Linked DNA regions of Homo sapiens: region 2 is linked to region 1. The links are contacts of gene promoters, found by promoter capture Hi-C in human tissues and cell types (Jung and others, 2019). All regions are on one chromosome and are shown on one strand. Each heading gives the region's core, a stretch centred on a gene start or on the middle of the fragment in contact. The rest is flanking DNA. Distances are from core to core; before and after follow the strand shown.

The links. Contacts are between HindIII fragments. The study calls those that stand out against the background at their distance.
Region 2: a fragment that was not itself captured here is called in contact with the fragment with the promoter of CCKBR in region 1 in 5 of the 25 tissues and cell types used here (H1 embryonic stem cells, hippocampus, neural progenitor cells and 2 more).

Annotation. Positions count from the first base shown.
Region 1 is chr11:6,258,407-6,261,134 of GRCh38, reverse strand. It overlaps CCKBR (cholecystokinin B receptor), which reads right to left and starts at 1,297. Exons shown (of 5, transcript NM_176875.4): 1 at 1,056-1,297. The coding sequence starts at 1,206. The HindIII fragment of the contact is 2,957 bases long and covers 157-2,728 here.
Region 2 is chr11:6,347,848-6,350,547 of GRCh38, reverse strand. No RefSeq gene overlaps it. Among named protein-coding and RNA genes, the nearest start is that of CAVIN3, 29 kb to the right of the region's middle. The HindIII fragment of the contact is 9,857 bases long and covers 1-2,700 here.

The sequences.
Region 1 (2,728 bases), core at 48-2,547:
AGTGTGAGTGTGTAACAACTCGGCTGAGAAAGCATAGATTATTTCGTGGGGTAAATAAATACTTGGATTACAATTTATTCCAACTTTCCCTTTTTGAGTTTAGAAAAATTTCCTTCTGCTTAACATTGCTCCTTCACCTAGAATCCCACTCCTTCCTTTTCTGCCTACTCAACTTCAAGACCCAGCTCTAAGGTTCTAGCCTCTGTGAAGTTCTTTTGGTGCCCACAGTTTAGACCCTTTCATGGGACTTCCATTGTGTCTGTGATTTTTCCATTTGCTTGGTTTCTCTCTGCACTTGGCTATGGGCCATGAGGGTCCAGACTGGGTCTAGTTTGCCCTGTGCCCCCAGCACCTAGCCTAGGGCTGGAGAGAGAGCTTGGAAGATAGCTGGAGACATTACTTGCAGACAAAGAGAGAGGGCACAGAGCCTCGAAAGCTCCAACTAGGGAGGCAGAGGGGTTTGAGAAGGAGTGAAATGGAGGCAGGCAGCTCTAAGGAGCATCCCCTAGTGTCCAGCCTAATTCAGATTTGAGGATCTTTTTTGGGATGGCTGGGGGCTGGGGTGTCAGATGTGATCACAACTTCAGCTTCGCATTCAAGCTTTCCAGAGTGCTCCCTCCCTCAACCAGCCCCCTTCTTTTCCCAGTCCTGCCTTCCTTTCTTCCTTCCCTTCTCTGTTGTGGCTCTGTGAACTGGATGTAAGAGGGAAAAGGAGATCTGCAGGGTTGGCAAGAGGAGGTCCTCGCCTTCTGACTGGTGTCTAGGAGGGGCTGCGTGTTGGGGAAGGGGCTGTGCTTTGGGGTGAGCAGGGGCTCTAGGTGTATTCAGGGGACCAGGATGTGAAGGAGTTCCGACCAGGTGGTGTGAAGCTGTGATGAAGTTGTAGGCTGTGGGGGTGAAGGTGTGAGGGGAGCTGTTTGGGGGCTGAGGGAGTACTATGAGAGGCACGGTGTGGACGTTTGAGAAGGTAGTGTGGAGCTCGTTGGGGGGACTCTATTAGTGTTCTGGGGTACAGTGAGAAATAGCTTGTGGGGGGGGCTGAGGGAGGCACCCACCTCGTGTCCCGGCTCCGCGAATGCGAGGGGGCTCGCAGCTGAGGTTGCCCACACTGCTGCTGTTGAGGAGAGGCGCCCCCGGGCGGCACAGGGAAGCCCCCGGCCCGGGTCCGGTTCCCTGCACGCTCCGGTTCAGCTTTAGCAGCTCCATGGCCCCCGCCGAGCCCGCCGCCTTACTCAGCTCGACCCGGCGGGCTCCCAACGCGGCTCCACCTGCTCACGCTGCGATTCCGGCTCAGGCTCCCGCCGCCCTCCTCTCCCTGCCCCCTGCCCCGCCTGGTCCCCGCCCCCAGCCCAGGCGCCTGCCCTCCACTCTCCCGCGGCTCGCCCCGCCTGGGTTCCCGTCCCTCCGCCAGCCTCTGTCCCGCCAGGTGACTGTGCACCCCCTCCCTGGCTCGGGAGTTCTGCCCCTCCCTGTGCGACTGTCCTCCAGGCTCGCCCCCTCCCTAGATGTGTCCCGTCTCCTCTTAGAGATTTCTCTCCTGCCCACCTCTCTTTATCACCCGCCCCCACCCCCGATTCCCAGGAATGAGAGAGAGAGAGAGAGAGAGAGAGAGAGAGAGAGAGAGAGAGAGAGATTGAAGACAAGAGTATTGGCAGCGTAGGGGGAGGTTTCGGGGAAGGGAGGGTAGGAGGGGTTGGGTAGAGACGGCTGCCACGGATCCAGCATCTTTCTCTGGTGTATCAGGGAACGTGGAGGTGGCGTTGGAGACCAGGTCTGCGTGCGTCACCTGCTGAGGCGCGGATGCTTTAGTCTGAGCCTAGAGCCGCATTTACCGTACTGTGTTGCAGTGGCCGCAGTGACCGTGACACTATTGCTACCGTAGTTCCCTGCAGCTCCTCGCTGCGGGCCTGGGGTAGCTCCTGCATCTGTCTCCGCACCCTCCATCTCCTGTCTGAGGCTTAACACTCAGGCTTGCACTTAAGGGTCCCAAGGAGCCCTCCACAGCTGGGCGGGAGTGGGGGTGGGGCCGGGGCCGAGATTTGGCTCCAGGGAAGCCTTGCCAGGGAAAAGGGCTCCCGGGAGGAAGCTTCTGACTTGAGTGTTGAGGGCAGTTGGGGGTGGTGGCAAGCACTGACAAGGATAAACCAGAGTAAGGTGAGGATGGGATATAATTCTAACGCCGGCCCAGCGCAGGCAAAAGAGAAGGAGAAGGTTGGCTTTCTCCACCGTCTCCAGGCAGCGCCCACGCCCACCCGACACGCTAACGCTCCCTGTTTGCTCTCAGTGCAGGCAGAGCTGCCTGTGTAGGGTGTCAGGTTCCCACGAGAGGGGGCTAGAAGGGGACTGGGTCACTGCGGTGCAGCGGGAACAGGGCTGAAGGGTGCAGGACTGAACTGGGTTCAGCTTCTCGGGGCAGGATTTGCCTCTTCTACTATTTCAGCCCTGCTCCCTATGCATTCTCCTATCCATTCCTTTTCTTCCCCAGATTCCTATCTCCAGATTCCTATCTCCAGATTCCTATCCATTCTTCAGATTCCGGATGAACTCCAATACGATGTGAAATTCTTCTGACCCCCAGCAGTAGCTGTAAGAGGTTGGGGGCGGGCATCAGTGGAAGAGCAAATTAGAGAATGGAGTCTGGCTTTATGGGGGATTCAGCAGGCCCTTATCCAATTAATCTTTTGGAGAGGACCTGGTTCAGCCAGCCCTGAGTTTATAGGGGCTGAAG
Region 2 (2,700 bases), core at 192-2,691, 89 kb before region 1:
TGCGAACTTACTGAAAGTCTTATGTATTGTCATGGAGTCATATATACTGTTATATCTTGTTATCAGTTATTTAATGCTGCATAACAAGCCATCCCAAAACATAGTGGCTTAAAACAGTAACCATATATTATTGCCCATGAATCTGTGGGTCACCATGTTGATCAGCTGCAGGTTGACTGGTCTAGGATGGCCTCACTCACATGTCTGGTGGTTGGCTGGCTGATGGCTGGGTGACATGGGAGACTGGGACATGTGTCTCATCAAGCATCAAGTTACCCTGGTGTTATTTACATGGCAGGGTCAGGTTTCCAAAAGAGAGACCAGAAGTTTGAAGCATACATTCAGAAATAGTATGATGACACTTCTGCTGCATTCTATTGGCCAAAGCAAACCATAAGGCCAGTCTAGATTCAGTGTGTGAGGAAACAGACTTTCTTGATGGAAGGATTGAAAAGTCACATTTCAAAAAGTATGGATACAGGGAGGCAGGGGAAGCATAGGGTCTTTTTTTTTTTTTTTTTGAGACTGAGTCTTGCTCTGTTGCCCAGGTTGGAGTGCAGTGGAGCGATCTCAGCTCACTGCAAGCTCCGCCTCCCGGGTTCTCACCATTCTCCTGCCTCAGCCTCCAGCGTAGCTGGGACTACAGGTGCTCGCCACCACGCCTGGCTATTTTTTTTTTGTATTTTTAGTAGAGATGGGGTTTCACTGTGTTAGCCAGGAATGTCTGGATCTCCTGACCTTTTTTTGTATTTTTAGTAGAGATGGGGTTTCACTGTGTTAGCCAGGAATGTCTGGATCTCCTGACCTTCTGATCCGCCCACCTCAGCCTCCCAAAGTGCTGGGATTACAGGCGTGAGCCACAGCACCCGGCCAGGGTCCATTTTTACAGTTAATGTATCACAGCTCTGTCAAGAAATTTTTCATAGAAAAAGAAGTAAGGCAAAGAACCAATGTCCATGCCATTCATTGATTTCATTATGGGACCTACAGTGGATTGAACTGTGTTCTTCAAAAAGATATGTTGAAGTCCTAACTCCGGTACCTTTGAAGAGGACCTTATTTAAAAATAGGGTCTTTGCATGTGTAATTAAATTAAGATAAGGTCAGACTGGATTAGGGAGGACCCTAAACTCAATGATTGGTGTCTCTATAAGGAGAGAAAGATTTGAAAACTCTTGGATACAGAGGAAAGAAGGACCTGTGAAAATGAAGACAGAGATTGAAGTGGTGCAGTTACACGCCAAGGAATGACAAGGATTGCTGGGAGCTACCAGAGGCAAAGAATGATCCTCTCCAGAGCCTTCTGAGAGTGCCCTGCTGAGACCTTGGGCTTCTAGCTTCTAGAACCATAAGATAACAAATGAATATGTTTCTGTTGTTTTAAATCACTAATTTTGTGGCACTTTCTTATAGCAGCTCTAGAAAGCTAATATAGACCCTATCAGACAGAAGTTGCTGGCATTATAGAGAAATGAATGTTCAGCTTTGACCCTAGCTGGGGGACAATTGCTTGTGAGTTAGGCATCTTGTCTTGCTGTTGGTGATTTATGCTCTCTGCCAGATTCATATATTCATGTCTCCAAGTCAGAACACATAGGCCCAGGGATTAAGAGTTGGAGATGGGAGCATCACCACTCATAATTATACTTCAATAACCATTCTCAAAATGCTGTCTTTCTCTAACCAAGATTCTTTTACTACCAAAGTATTTAGCATCTTAGTGTTCAAAGTAAAACAAAAACAAAACAAAACAACAAAACCAAAAACAAAGTGAGAGATATTTTCACTAGGTGCCTGTAATGATGATCCCATTACATTGGAAATTGGAAACTGGTCATGTCACATTTCTCATGCCATGTGCAGAAACGGAAAAAAGATGTCCTGCTGTTATCTAGGATAATTAATCTTTTTAAAAAATTAATTTTTAAGTTGACTAATATAAATGGTATAGATTTTTTAGTGTACATGTTTTGATATATGAATACACTGTAGAATGGTTAAATTGAGCCAATTAACATATCAATTACCTCAAATACTTACACATTTTTTCTGTGGTGAGAAAGCATAATCTACTCTTAGCAATTTTCAAATGTATAATACATTGTTATTAACTATGGTCATCGTATTGTACAGTAAATCTTCTGAGCTGATTCTTCCTGTCTAACTGGAGGAAACTTTTGTGCCTTTTGATCAACGTCTCCCCAATCTCCCTACTCGCCCAGCACCCCAACCCCCAGCCCCAGCTACTGGTAACTACTTTTTTTTTTTTTTTTTTTTTTTTTTTGTTGAAACGGAGTCTGGCTCCGTCGCCCAGGCTGGAGTGCAGTGGCGCGATCTCGGCTCACTGCAAGCTCCGCCTCCCGGGTTCATGCCATTCTCCTGCCTCAGCCTCCCGAGTAGCTGGGACTACAGGCGCCCGCCACCACGACCGGCTAATTTTTTGTATTTTTAGTAGAGGCGGGGTTTCACTGTGTTAGCCAGGATGGTCTGGATCTCCTGACCTCGTGATCCGCCCACCTCGGCCTCTCAAAGTGCTGGGATTACAGGCGTGAGCCACCGCGCCTGGCCGCAGCTACTGGTAACTTCTATTCTACTCTCTGCTTCTATAAGTTTGACTTTTTAAAGATTCCACATATTTCTGAAATCATGCAATATTTGTCCTTCTGTGTCTGGCTTGTTTTACTTCACATAATGTTTTCC